Linked DNA regions of Homo sapiens: all the other regions are linked to region 5. Evidence: promoter capture Hi-C in 16 types of primary human blood cells and fetal thymus (Javierre and others, 2016). All regions are on one chromosome and are shown on one strand. Each heading gives the region's core, a stretch centred on a gene start or on the middle of the fragment in contact. The rest is flanking DNA. Distances are from core to core; before and after follow the strand shown. Region 1 has its middle 27 kb from the start of SIAH2. Region 2 has its middle 22 kb from the start of TSC22D2. Region 3 overlaps ERICH6-AS1 (ERICH6 antisense RNA 1). Region 4 overlaps SIAH2 (siah E3 ubiquitin protein ligase 2). Region 5 holds the start of SERP1 (stress associated endoplasmic reticulum protein 1).

What was found. Contacts are between HindIII fragments. The CHiCAGO score rates a contact against its expected background, and 5 or more counts as called.
Region 1: a contact is called between a fragment that was not itself captured here and the fragment with the promoter of SERP1 in region 5, in 1 of 17 cell types (activated CD4 T cells). The highest score is 6.1, in activated CD4 T cells.
Region 2: a fragment that was not itself captured here is called in contact with the fragment with the promoter of SERP1 in region 5 in 1 of 17 cell types (naive CD4 T cells); the score reaches 5.2 in naive CD4 T cells.
Region 3: a contact is called between a fragment that was not itself captured here and the fragment with the promoter of SERP1 in region 5, in 5 of 17 cell types (non-activated CD4 T cells, total CD8 T cells, fetal thymus and 2 more). The highest score is 6.8, in non-activated CD4 T cells.
Region 4: a fragment that was not itself captured here is called in contact with the fragment with the promoter of SERP1 in region 5 in 1 of 17 cell types (activated CD4 T cells); the score reaches 6.9 in activated CD4 T cells.

Annotation. Positions count from the first base shown.
Region 1 is chr3:150,788,809-150,791,508 of GRCh38, reverse strand. No RefSeq gene overlaps it. Among named protein-coding and RNA genes, the nearest start is that of SIAH2, 27 kb to the right of the region's middle. The HindIII fragment of the contact is 3,952 bases long and covers 1-2,700 here.
Region 2 is chr3:150,384,888-150,387,587 of GRCh38, reverse strand. No RefSeq gene overlaps it. Among named protein-coding and RNA genes, the nearest start is that of TSC22D2, 22 kb to the left of the region's middle. RefSeq lists enhancers at 1,800-2,109, 2,168-2,337. The HindIII fragment of the contact is 8,290 bases long and covers 1-2,700 here.
Region 3 is chr3:150,706,742-150,709,441 of GRCh38, reverse strand. ERICH6-AS1 (ERICH6 antisense RNA 1) reads right to left here. Exons shown (of 3, transcript NR_121675.1): 2 at 1,433-1,510. Among named protein-coding and RNA genes, the nearest start is that of ERICH6, 4.2 kb to the right of the region's middle. The HindIII fragment of the contact is 1,126 bases long and covers 852-1,977 here.
Region 4 is chr3:150,739,261-150,741,960 of GRCh38, reverse strand. SIAH2 (siah E3 ubiquitin protein ligase 2) reads left to right here. Exons shown (of 2, transcript NM_005067.7): 2 at 1-836. Among named protein-coding and RNA genes, the nearest start is that of SIAH2-AS1, 21 kb to the left of the region's middle. RefSeq lists a silencer at 1,015-1,094. The HindIII fragment of the contact is 1,214 bases long and covers 736-1,949 here.
Region 5 is chr3:150,545,105-150,547,804 of GRCh38, reverse strand. SERP1 (stress associated endoplasmic reticulum protein 1) reads left to right here and starts at 1,309. Exons shown (of 3, transcript NM_014445.4): 1 at 1,309-1,753; 2 at 2,027-2,102. The coding sequence starts at 1,670. It overlaps EIF2A (eukaryotic translation initiation factor 2A), which reads right to left and starts at 1,018. Exons shown (of 14, transcript NM_032025.5): 1 at 975-1,018. The coding sequence starts at 1,002. RefSeq lists enhancers at 711-1,250, 523-1,722, 1,168-1,798. The HindIII fragment of the contact is 4,802 bases long and covers 1-2,542 here.

The DNA.
Region 1 (2,700 bases), core at 191-2,690, 240 kb before region 5:
ACATGGCTAGTAGAATATTTTTGGCAGAAAGTGATAGAAAAACCCAAGTCAACTGGTTTGAATAATATAGAACTGCATTATTTTACCTAATAAGTCTTTGAGAGAGGCAGGATGAGCCAGATGTGCTGTGGTGAAGGTTCTAGCTCTATTTCCCACTCTTCTTTCAATTTTCCCCTCCTCCATGTGAACAGCCCATCACTACCATCTGATAGTAACTGATTTAGGAACATAGGCTTAAACCATCAGTAGCTGGTATTCCCAGGGCTGGTCTAGGGATGGGCGTATGATCCAATTTGGCCTAATCAGACTTCAGGGAATGCCTTATTTCATGGGTGGAGGAGAGGTTTTCTTTTCCTTCCTGTGGATGTAAACAAGAACACTTATTGCCCCAGTCACTGCTGCCCATCATCTTGCAACCATAGGGGTAAGTCAGCTTGAGGACGCTCCATGTGGAGGAGAGGAAAGCTGAAAGAGGAGTGGGAAATAGAGCTAGACCCCTCACTGAAGCACATCTGGCTCCCCCTGTCTCTCCAAGTGCAACATGTGCTATGATCAAGATGTGTTCCATCTAGAGGCTCTAGGAAAAGATTTGTTTTATTTCCTTTCTCAGCTTCTAAAGGCCCTCTGCATTCCTTAGCTTGTGGCCTCTTTCTCCATCTTCAGAGCTGGCAATGTTGCAACTCTGAACATTCTTTCATAATCACATCTCCTTCTGACTACAACTGGGAAAGGATTTCTTCTTTTAAAGATCCATGTGATTAGATTGAACTCACACCAATAATGAATACTGTCCCTATCTCAAAGCCCTTAACCAAATCACATCTGCAAAGTTCCTTTGCCAGTAAGATAATGTATTCACAAATTTCAGAGACTTAGGACTTAGACAGCTTTGGGCGGGTGTTATTCTGCCTACCATACCACCTCATAGTTCCTTCAGGCTCAGATCCACACTTTGTAGTTATATATTTCCAAACTCTAGATAGAGGTCAAGAAAGTCAGGAAAAAAGCATTTCCACAAGAATAAAAAGAAAAAAACTAAGTGGATTCAGCAATGTGTTCCATTTGATGGGTAACAGTCTCTCCCTGGATTAAATAATAACTGTTGAAAAGGTCCTACAGGCTAATGTTAGCTAAAAGAGGGCTGAACAAAGCCCAAATTAAACTGCGTAAATTCCCTGAGGTCTCTGGAGAGTTTTCTGTATAAAAGGAAGGTCACAGGTGATATTGTATTTCTTATAACCCCAAGGACACAATAACTTTTATGTCAAACTGGAAATGAAATAAAATGCTGGCTTCTGAAAATTCATCAGATCAAGGAGAACATCTTGACTGGACAATGAGAAAATTTATAACTCTTCAGTCACCTCCTCGATCCTTTTAACTCTGGGGATTGCCATTGAATAGCTAACTCAGTCATGGAAATTAACTTATCCAGTCAAAAGGAAATTGTCTGCCTAAGGATGAACACAGAGGATCTGGCTACAACTAAAAACTCTTGCTCTCCTAGCTTGGCTACTCAATAGAAAAGGAAAGGGAAGTGTGAAAACATCAAATAGAAGAAGCAGTAATGAATTTTGCCAGCTACCTTTTTTTTCAATAGTGAGCAGTGCCGAGAATGAACATAAGGAATCAGTGCTCAGCAGACCTGGATTGTAGCCCCGCTGGGACATTAACTAGTTGTTAAGACTTTGGTCAAATGCCTTAACCTTCTGGGGACCATGTTTCCTTGTCCTTTTTTAAAAAATTTTAAAAATATTGACATGCATTTTTTAAGATGCATTAAAGAAAAAATTCATAATACTTCCACCACATAACACACACATATGCACACACACACACACACACACACACACACCCCTACTTCCTCTTATTCCACCCTCCAAGGGTGGAACGTCTAGTGAGTATCCCCTCGATACCTTTCTCCATGCTCGCATGCAAGCAGATATTCCTAAAGAGTTTGAATTTTTTGTTCTTACAAAAACTGAATCATACTATGTTTAAGACTCCACAATTTCTTTTTTTTTTTCATTCAACTTACTATGGTGATCCTCTAGAACAATTCATATAGATCTAATTCATTCCTACACACTAATTTAAATTGGAATTATGAATATACCAAATTACATTTATACCAAAATATATCCTATTGAAGTACAGTTCAGTTGTATCTCAATTTTGTTTTGTTTTGCTACTAAAAAATGTGCAAAAATCATCTCAATTACGTATTTCTATGTTCTACAGCTTTCATATCTGAAAAATATACTCCTCAAAATGAGATTTGGGGCAAAAAATATTTTTAAAAATTTTAATAAATATTACTATACTATCTCCCCAAGAGCAGTAATAATTTTCAGTCCTACCTTCAGTATATGAGAAGGCCTGTTTTCCCTCTATTAGCACTGTATGTCATTAATCTTTTTAGTTTTTGCCACTTGATAAGGAAAAAATGGTATCTTGTGTTGTTTAATTTGCAATTTTGAATGCTAGTAAGGTTGTTCATCTCATTTCTTAGTAAACTTTAGTTGCTAATTTAGGTTTTTACTCTGTACAGACACTATTCTTATGAGAAAAATGGAGGCATATTTTGGACTAAATCTCTAGCAAAATCACCGTAACTGTTATCTGGAATACCAGTTTAGCCAGAAACCAATCAGTACCTGAAAGCAGTCTGTAGCTTGGCTGTTGTATAACACCTCAACC
Region 2 (2,700 bases), core at 168-2,667, 160 kb after region 5:
GTGTCCCTAGGCTCTTTTTCAACCTGCCAAACCTGATTTCTCTATCACCCACTTAAAGATTACACTTGGGGTAACAGTGACAATCAAGCTCTGTGGTGTCCAAAGTGAGGGGTGCAAGATGATGTATTAGAGTGTGAGAAAAATATAAGAAGTTTATTTTTTAATCACATCCTTTAATGATACGTTTTTTAAATATTTTATGATGCACATAATATATTAGTACAATAGATTGGGGGAAGGGAGACAGAACAGAAAACACCATTTTTGCTGCTATAGAGATCCCCTAATTCTCTGCTTTCAATGAGAGCAGTTTCAATGTTGGCTTTTTGATGTCTACTGATTGCTGCAGACTTCTCTAGAGCTAAGTATGGAGTTTTATAAGACGCATGTCCTCCACTGCACAGCTGTATTCTATGACCAACCACAGAACACAATCTTTTTTTTTTTTTTTTTTTTTTTTTGAGACAGAGTTTTGCTCTTGTTGCCCAGGCTGGAGTACAATGGCGCAATCTTGGCTCACAGCAACCTCTGCCTCCCAGGTTCAAGTGATTCTCCTGCCTCAGCCTCCCGAGTAGCTGGGATTACAGGCATGCGCCACCATGCCCAACTAATTTTGTATTTTTAGTAGAGGTTTCTCTATGTTGGTCAGGCTGGTTTCGAACTCCTGACCTCAGGTGATCCGCCTGCCTCGTCCCCCAAAGTGTTGGGGTTACAGGTGTGAGCCACCGTGCCCAGCCTAGAACAGTCTTTCTTGCTAGGTCTTTGTCCTTCCCAGGGTTCCTGATACAGCTTTACCTCCTGATCCCTTCTCTTAGTAAAATTTCTTCTCACCTTTCCAAATTCTTCTAAAATGCACAAGCATTTTTGGGTACAGTAACAAGAGAGGCTTTAATGTAGAAATGCCACCAAAATATCCCCTGATGGTAAGACTTTTTGAGGTATAATGACATTGTGGTCACTTTTTTTTTTTTTTTTTTCTGAGATGGAGTTTCACTCTTGTCACCCAGCCTGGAGTGCAGTGGCATGATCTCAGCTCACTGTAACCTCTGCCTCCCGGGTTCCAGCGATTCTGCTGCCTCAGCCTCCTGAGTAACTGGGATTACAGGTGTGCACAACCACACCCAGATAATTTTGTATTTTTGGTAGAAATGGGGTTTCACCATGTTGGCCAGGCTGGTCTCAAACTCCTGACCTTGTGATCGGCCCGCCTCAGCCTCCCAAAGTACTGGGATTACAGGTGTGAGCCACCGTGCCCAGCCATTACTACAATAATTAAAAAAAAAAAAAAAAAAACTAATATGAGAAGCGGGAAAATGGCTGTGGTTGAATGACATGATTGACCAGGATTAGACAATTGTTGGATCAGAGTACTGGGTACATGAAGGTCATTATTATATTCTGCTTACTTTTTTGTATGCTCAATTTTTCATAATAAAAAGTTAAAAAAATCTTTTGAATCATTTATGGTTCATTTATTTAAAAAGAACCCCTCCTGCCACCTCCCCCCAGCCCCATATAAGGGCACCCCAAACCACAACTCTTGGGCTTGAATAATGTGTGAATCTATTTCAGATTTGGGCTTCAGACTGGTGTGAATTCTGCTCCTTCTGAGGCTGATTTCTTCCTTCCTCGCCCTCACTGACCACTTTCTTTTGTCCCAATGGCTATCTCTCAACCTGCCCACAATCACTTTCTTATAGTTAGCCTCCCCTCTTCTATCTTGTGTCTTTCATCTGCCTTCGTGGTTTTCTTTTCAAGTCATTTGTTCCCTGCCTCACCCCAAATCCCCTTCAGACATCAAATACTCAAATCTAGTCAGCATTCTCAGGCCATTTTCTTCCCTCTCCACCTAGTTCTGCCAGGCAGCCTGCCTCCCACTCCTGCCTCCATTCTGGGGGATGGTGTGCCAGCAGCACCAGAGTAGGAACTTCCCACCCTTCTTTTGCGAGCTGAGCTGACCTGGCTCTGGCCTGAGGTCTCATCCTGTGTGCTCTGAGTCTTTCAGCCTCATGTCACAATCCTCCATGAGGGGATTTCAGATACTTGCAGATTGGGAGGAGGTGACCTTTCTGCTTTTTTTTGCTGGGCCCGGTGGAAACCACCCCATCCCCTACCCCCACCTTCCTTGTACTGTAAAATGGGAAGTCTCGATGCAGGTTTCAGAGTTTCTGTTGGGGGACTTTCTAGGATGCCTATAAATTTTCGAGGTTTTGCACCCCTTTTAAATATACAAGCTCTTCTGAAAGTCCCTAAGGCATTTAGCATCATAGCTATAATCTCTAATATTTGAAGGATTTCAGGGTCTTCAAATAACTTGGATATATACCATCTCACTTGTACATTTTTTCCCTGTTCTTTTGTAACACAGCACCTGATTTGCTCTTCCTGCCACCATAGCGGTTCAAAGAGTCACTCTCCTCCACTTTGTTACACGCTCCATTTCACTGTTCGAATATTTTTTTTTCCCCTAGCAACTTTCTGGTCCCCTACCCCTAGCGTAGGTAGTAGATACTGCATCACCACTTCCCTTTCCCCTACTGCTCTGTGACCTACCACGTGAACATGAGAAAAGTGTCCGTCAGTGTGAACGAGCTCGCATCACAGTGTTGGGCAGCTGCATTCATTTTGACCTATAGTGAGGCCCGGGTTGGAGAACTAAGGGGGAGGGGCTGGAGCGGGAGAGGGAAGAAGAAACAGATA
Region 3 (2,700 bases), core at 165-2,664, 160 kb before region 5:
AGTGCAGGGGTGCAATCACAGCTCACTGCAGCCTCAACCTCCTGGGCTCAAACGATTCTCCCACCTTGGCCTCCCAAAGTGCTAGGATTACAGGTGTGAGCCACCGCGCCCAGCTTTAGGAACATTTTTAATTAGCCATCATCAAGGCTACAGTTCTTTAAAGTTGTTCTTCCACCATGAATCAGAACAATGCTTAACTAAGGCATTCTGAAGAGATACTGTGCTTTCTTCATGGATGTGCTAGGGAGCTATCTATAGCCCATTCAAAATATTCTATATGCAAATAAGAAGTTTAAGCCGGACAAAAATTCACTTTCCTGCCTTTCTCAAAGTGGTGGTATTCATGGCAGTCTTTGAGGAAAAATGGAAAACAGAAAAGGAAACAAAAAGAACAAAGCTGGAGGCATCACACTACCTGACTTCAAAATATACTACAAAGCTGTAGTAACTAAAACAACATGATACTGACAAAAAACCAGACACACAGACCAATGGGACAGAACGGAGAACACAAAAATAAATTCACATACTTAGAGCCAACTGATTTTCGACAAAGGTTCCAAGAACACACAATGGAGAAAAGACAGTCTCATCAATACATAGTGCTGGAAACTGGATATCCACATGCAGAAGAATAAAGCTAGATCCCTATCTTTTACCATATATAAAAATCAAATCAAAATGGATTAAAGACTTAAGTGTAAGACCTGAAACAATAAAACTAGTGGAAGAAAACACAAGGGAAATGCTTCATGACATTGTTCTGAGCAAGGATTTTTAAAATAAGACCCCAAAAGCACAAGAAACAAAAAGAAAAATAGACAAATAGAATTATTTCAAACTAAAAAGCTTCCGCACAGCAAAGGAAACAATCAACGGAGTGAAGAGACAAGTTGCAGAACAGGAGAAAATATTTGCAAATCATACATCTGACAAGGGGTTCATATTCAGAATATATGAGGAACTCAGAATACTCAAAAGCTAAATAATAATAATGATAATAATCTGCCAGAGTATGGTGGCTCACAGCTGTATTGCCAGAACTTTGGGAGGCCAAGGTGGGAGACTCACTTGAGGCCAGGAGTTCAAGACCAGCCTGTGCAAAATAGCAAGACTCTGTCTCTACAGAAAACTAAAAATTAGCCAGGCATGATAGTGCACACCTGTAGTCTTAGCTACTGGGGAGGCTGAGGTGGAAGAATCGCTTGAACCTAGGAGTTTGAGGCTGCAGTGAGCCATGATTGCACCACTGCACTCTAGCCTAGACAATAGAGCAAGAATCTGTCTCAAACAAAGAAAAAGTCGTGTATAGATACAATGGAATACTATTCAGCCATAAAAAGGAATGAAATCCTGTCATATACAACAATGTGGATGAACCTGGAGGATATTATGTAATGTGAAATAAGCCAGGCTATAGAAAGACAAATACCTCATGATCTTGATCATATGTGGAATCCAAAGAAGTTCACCTCATAGAAGTATTGAGTAGAACAGTGGTTACCAGAGGCTGCGGAGGGGAGGATGGAGAGAAAATAAAGAGAAATTGGTCAACGAGTACAAAGTTACAGTTAGATAGGAGGAATAAAGTCTGGTATTCTACTGCACACTAGGCTGACTATGGTTAACAATATTACATATTTCAAAATAGCTAGAAGAGATAATTTTGAATGTTCTCATCACAAAGAAATGATTATATAGTTTGGCTGTGTCCCCACCCAAATCTCATCTTGAATTGTAGTTCCCATAATCCCGTGTCGTGGGAGAAACCCATAGAAGGTAATTGAATCGTGGGGGCAATTACCCCCATGCTGCTGTTCTTATGATAGTGAGTGAGTTCTTACGAGATCCGATGGTTTTATAAGGGGCTTTCCCCACTTTTGCTCGGCACTTCTCCTTCCTGCCATCATGTGAAGAAGAATGTGTTTGCTTTCCCTTCTGCCATGATTGTAAGTCTCCTGAGGCCTAATTAAAGCTTTTTCCTTTATAAGTTACCCAGCCTCAAGTATGTCTTTATTAGCAGTGTGAGAAGGAACTAATACAAACGATAAATGTAAGAGATGATGGATATGCTAAATATCCTGATTTGATTTTCACACAATGTATCACATATTGAAACATCACACTGTATCCCATGAATATGTACAATTATGATGTGCCAATTAAAAACAAAATTAAAGAAAGGCAAACAAAATATCAAATGATGACAATAGGGAACAATTACATAACATTATATACTTGAGATAGGAAATTTTTTAAAAATCCATTACCTCTTGATATGGTTTGGCTCTGTTTCCTGACCCAAATCTCATCTTGAATTGTAATCCCCACATGTTGAGGGCAGGACCTGGTGGGAGGTGATCAGATCATGGGGGTGGTTTCCCTCATGCGGTTCTCGTGATAGTGAGGGAGTTCTCAATGAGATCTGATGGTTTAAAAGTGGCAGTTTCTGGCTGGGCATGGTGGCTCACACCTGTAATCCCAGCACTTTGGGAGGCCAAGGCGGGTGGATTACCTGAGGGCAGAAGATCGAGACCATCCTGACTAACACGTGAAACCTCGTCTCTACTAAAAATACAAAAAATTAGCCAGGCGTAGTGGCGGGCGCCTGTAGTCCCAGCTACTCGGGATGCTGAGGCAGGAGAATGACGTGAACCCGGGAGGCCAAGCTTGCAGTGAGCCAAGATTGCGCCACTGCAC
Region 4 (2,700 bases), core at 93-2,592, 190 kb before region 5:
TGGGGTTGGCCTGTTGGTGATTTGGATGCTGTTCTGTGATCTAAAACAACTCTTATTGAATTGTATTTACTCCCTAAACAACACTTGACAGGCTGTTGCACAGGGCTTCTATAGATCAGTGTGTTAGGAATGGGAGGCCCCTTCCTGCCTGCCTTCCCATATTGGTCCCTTGACATTGACAAAAGCACAGTGACTGTCAGCAGATTCCTTTACTTTTGTTTGTGGGAGGTAGGAATTGTTTTAATGCATTTTAAACAGTGTTTCTGAAATTGGATGGCTGGCTAATAGACACTGAATCACCCGGAGTGCTTATCTTAAAATTGCAGATTTAGGGAGCCTGCCAATTTAACAGTCTCATCAGGTGATTCTTTTCAACAGTAATGTTTGAGAATTACTGGGTTAAATTGTGGGAAAGGGTCCAGATTTTAAAGGTGCTTTAAGGTTGCCCTCTGCCGATACTGTTTGTCTTTCTACTGTTTCATCCCCTAACTTCCCCCAACCCTCAAATTAAAACTAGAACTATAGATCCACATGAACGCACGCCTGAGATTTGGCCACTCACCTATGTTTTGGGTGGATTGCCTAGGAAAGCAAGTCATATGGCCATTGATAGTTCTCATGTAATTAGTTTTGCTCACCACTAGTACAGATGACCCGTTTACACGTGGCTTCCCTCGGAAGCCCTCCTCAACAGTAGCTGGTGTGAAAGACTAAATCAGTAGAGTTGGAAAAGCTTTATAACCGGTGTGTCATATGCTTGCTATTTAAAGCTGTGTGTTGGTTTTGTTTTTCTGCCACATTCACTAGTTTTTTAATAAATATTTTCCAAAAATGGATATTGTGCTTCATTTCCCTAATTGAGTAATGGGTATTTATTGAGCATCTACTGTGTGCAAGTGCAATGAACCTTCGTCACTACATCTGGGGTTGGAACTTTCACTGTTTGTTTCCACTGTGGAAACAGTCATTGGGCCAAGGTCATGGCACGGGTCCATGACAGCACTGGGGTCCGGGCTCATGTGTCTGAACCACTGACTGTCAGTGCTGCAGGTCTCCTCCCAGGGCTGTCGTTTCTATCTGACAGTGCCAGTACCTGTGCAATAAGAGGATTGCTCCAGCTTTACAGAGTCAGAAGGAAGACGCTTGGCCACTGCTGACATCCAGAGTGCTGGCGTTGATCCAAGCTGACCCACTCCCTCAGTCCCAACCCTAAACTCTCAAAAGAATTTAGAGGATTAGGGCCAAATGCTCAGCAAGGATTGAAGGCTGCTTACCTCAGTGTCCCAATTTCTTTCTTTTTTTTTTTTTTTTTTTTTGAGACAGAGGCTGGAGTGCAATGGCACTCACTGCAATCTCTGCCTCTAGGTTCAAACAATTCTCCTGCCTCAGCCTCCCAAGTAAGTGGGACTAGAGGCCTATGCCACCACACCCAGCTAATCTTTGTATTTTTAGTAGAGATGAGGCCAGACTGGTCTCGAACTCCTGACCTCAAGTGATCCACTTGCCTCGGCCTCCCAAAGTGCTGGGATTAAGGCATGAGCCACCACACCCAGCCCTCAGTGTCCCAATTTCATTAGCATACTACCAAATGGAGGTGATGGCTTTGGAGTTGATTTTGTTTTTTAAGTGAGATACAGCGTTGAGTTTTTAGCCAGCACAGGGCTCTGACATTTAAAGAATTGCTAAAGTAACCTCTTCTGTAAAAGTGAAAAACGGTGCCCTACACAAAAGTAGGGGTTTACAACATCTGTGGTGAATGAATAAAAACCACAACTCTTATCACTAAGAAAGTCACATTTCAAGTCCATATACAGAGGAACCTATGAAGGTGAAACTAGGATCCAGGAGCAGATGAACTCTGACCCTCAGGACCAGAGCCAGTCCAGATATGGCCTCCAGGGCCCTCACGGCACCCATGCAAGGTGCAGTGTGCATACACTAGCCAAGCTTGGCAGCATCACTTCATGTCCACGGCTTACCCTCTTACTACGTGTGGTAGAGGAATCAGGACTGATTGGTTAACAGTGCATAAAACGCAAACCTATAAACAAAAGACATAAAGAAGGAGAAAGTGGACACAAGTTATTCCAAAAGCACAAAAAGAGTTTTAGCCCAAAAAGGTAAAGTGATGGGCCAGCAGCCACACAGTGCATTACTGGCAGCACTGGTTCTATAATTCAGGCTTCTTGATTCCCCATTCAAACTTGCTCCTAGAACTTAACAAATGAAAAAGTTGTAAGCAACGCAACTCTGAACTTTTATTTTCCAGAGTTACGTAGTTCCCTTTCATCTCTGTCACTGGAAATCTGTAAACTTAACCTTTACTCTTGACTTTCTTGAAACTGTGCATTTTCTACCAGAAAATAAAAATCCCCAGGTTATTCCGTTTTAACAGGAAGTGAAAACAGCAGAAAAAGATTATGTAAATTAAAATGCCTTTTTATGCAGTTCCAATTGCAAATGCAATTTAAAACATGATGAGTATATTCCTTGACTTGTTGCTTTTAAAAAAAGTGAGAAAAAAAAAGAAAAGTAATGATAGGCATTTGTCAAAACTCATCACGTGGTCCACTTAAGTACCATATTTTAAAAAATAAAATAAGAATATTTTATCTTTCCTGTCCTAGTTCAATATTCTAATTTGGTAATCTGGCGATTAAACGATGGTAGATTAAGCCTGTGTCTTATGACGCATGAGTC
Region 5 (2,700 bases), core at 60-2,559:
GAAGACAGACTGAGCATCAGTGGGCATGGCGCTTAATAACAAAGATTTTAAAATGTAAAAATAGAAATGTAGACTGGCAAAAAGTGCAAAAATGTTTTAAGGTTCCTTTCGCGGGGGGGAAGGGAGGGAATAGCCTCCCTCCTTAAATGCAGACAACCTTTCTCTTAATGACTTTTTCCTTCTATATAGTTATCAGAACTTAACCAAAACCTTCTTTTCCTTCCCGACTCTCTTTTCCTTACGTAATACTCATATGCAGACTCTTAGCCACACCCTAGTAAAGCAACTTCCCCAGCATTTTCCAATCTAAGTTTATTATCTCCTCCAACACTACAGTCTTTAGCTTCAAAATTTCAAGAGTCCTCTAATGTTCTATTTCTAATATGCTCATAACCATTTCAAAATCAAATGTTGCTAGAATATCTCTATCATGCTCACTGCTACACCCTCTCCCAACCACACCTTCATCATTTGAAACCTGCATTACAGCTCCACTCTCCCTATTCAGTCCTACAAACCTCATTAAGGCAGGAAGGCCAGAATCTGGAATTACTTAAGTCCAGGTGTATTTAAAGTGCGTGATCATTCTAGAGGACTAACTCATGTTTGTCTTTGTTCTTATTGTAGACCTAAATGACTTCACAAGGGCCCGTGTAACACCAGTATTGCAGACCCATGTGTCACAAATTCAACTAGCACATTGTTTTTCTCCCCCTTCTTCTATTTCTGTAGAAGATGAATCCGCAGGCAAGAATGATGGATGGGTGAAAGGGAGGGGGAATACGAAAGCCCAGAGGCGGAGACTTCACTTCCGATTGCCACGCTATATCAAGAAAGCCAACAGTCTGGCCTTTCCGCAAGCCACAAGAAAAGGCAGATCAGACTCCCCGGCTCCTCGGGTAGTTCTCAAAGGCAAAGACAAAAATAAGAAACTAGTCTGAAGAAAGAGAGTCCCTCGCTTCTTCAGAACTCACCTGTCAAGAGCGGCGTGGACGGCGCCATGTTGTCCCGGAAAGAGAAACCGCTCGGGTGAGAGTTCACCAGGGCCGAACCCGGCCCCTACACGTCTCCTCATGCGTGGAGACAGCGAATTGGTGTTTCCGGAGCCATCAGCCTCGGGGCCAATTCACTTCCGGTTACGGAGTGACGCGGAAAAGGCGCCCAAACGCGCACGCGCAAATCTAGGGCGACGCTTGACAGAGCTTGGGAGGGTGCGCCTGCTTTCGCCCTCCTTCTCCAGCGGGAGGGGCGCGCACTTCCGCGGGGCGGAGTCCGTCTAGTGCTGACGTTGGCAGCCGAACCCAAAGTAGATCGAGGCGGCGGGCTGCACATTCCCGTTGTTGCGTTGCGTTTCCTTCCTCTTTCACTCCGCGCTCACGGCGGCGGCCAAAGCGGCGGCGACGGCGGCGCGAGAACGACCCGGCGGCCAGTTCTCTTCCTCCTGCGCACCTGCCCCGCTCGGTCAGTCAGTCGGCGGCCGGCGCCCGGCTTGTGCTCAGACCTCGCGCTTGCGGCGCCCAGGCCCAGCGGCCGTAGCTAGCGTCTGGCCTGAGAACCTCGGCGCTCCGGCGGCGCGGGCACCACGAGCCGAGCCTCGCAGCGGCTCCAGAGGAGGCAGGCGAGTGAGCGAGTCCGAGGGGTGGCCGGGGCAGGTGGTGGCGCCGCGAAGATGGTCGCCAAGCAAAGGATCCGTATGGCCAACGAGAAGCACAGCAAGAACATCACCCAGCGCGGCAACGTCGCCAAGACCTCGGTAAGGAAAGAGCGGGCGCCCCTCTGCGTTCCGCAGCCGGAGCTGAGTCCGGGTCCCTGGGGCCGCGTCGCGTTTTCTCCCGGATCCGGCCGACCGTGGGCTGGTGCCGTGGAGGGGTAGGGGCCCGAGTCTGCGAACCGCCAGACTGTGGGGGCTCGGGAACGGAAGGGGAGACCTGTGAGGTGAGGGGGCCGGCGACCGGCGTGCAGGCGTGGGAGCCTGGGGTCCGAGTGGTTTCTCTGCATCTGAAATGGTGGATTTTCGCTTTTGCAGAGAAATGCCCCCGAAGAGAAGGCGTCTGTAGGACCCTGGTTATTGGCTCTCTTCATTTTTGTTGTCTGTGGTTCTGGTAAGTGGCTTGGGGGCTCCCATCAGGTAGAGTCTTGGGTTGAAAGGATTTGGGATGACGTGGTGACCGGTCAGTAGTGAGTCCTACCTGCGTAGTTCTCAACCCACCTGCCGAGGACTCCACATAATTCTGTTTCGTCTGAACCAAATTACTTGTTCCACATATGCACAGAGGGTGGTGCTCCAGAAACTTCTCCCAGCTTAATTTGTACTCACAGGAGATCAAAAAGGAGGTCAGGTCTTGGTAATGATCCAGTTGGAATAAATGTTAAGACCGGACAAAACCTAACGAAATGAGAATTTAGAATGTTTTGTAACTCCATTATCAGTCTTTGCAAAGAAAATTATAAATATGTACTATAGATGTTAGAACTTGATTTAACATATACCAGAATCTAATGTCTTAATGTCAAAATTGAGTATATTTTATAAAATAAAGCTTGTGCAAAGAATTGATTCACTATAGAGGAAATTACCTGATTGGCATTTTAATGTGTGAGTCAAATGTTTTTAGGTTAATAAAAGAAACGTTTGATACATGGTTTAAAAAAAAAGTGTCGGGGTAGCCTGCTGTCCCCTAAGAGTAACAGACACTTGCC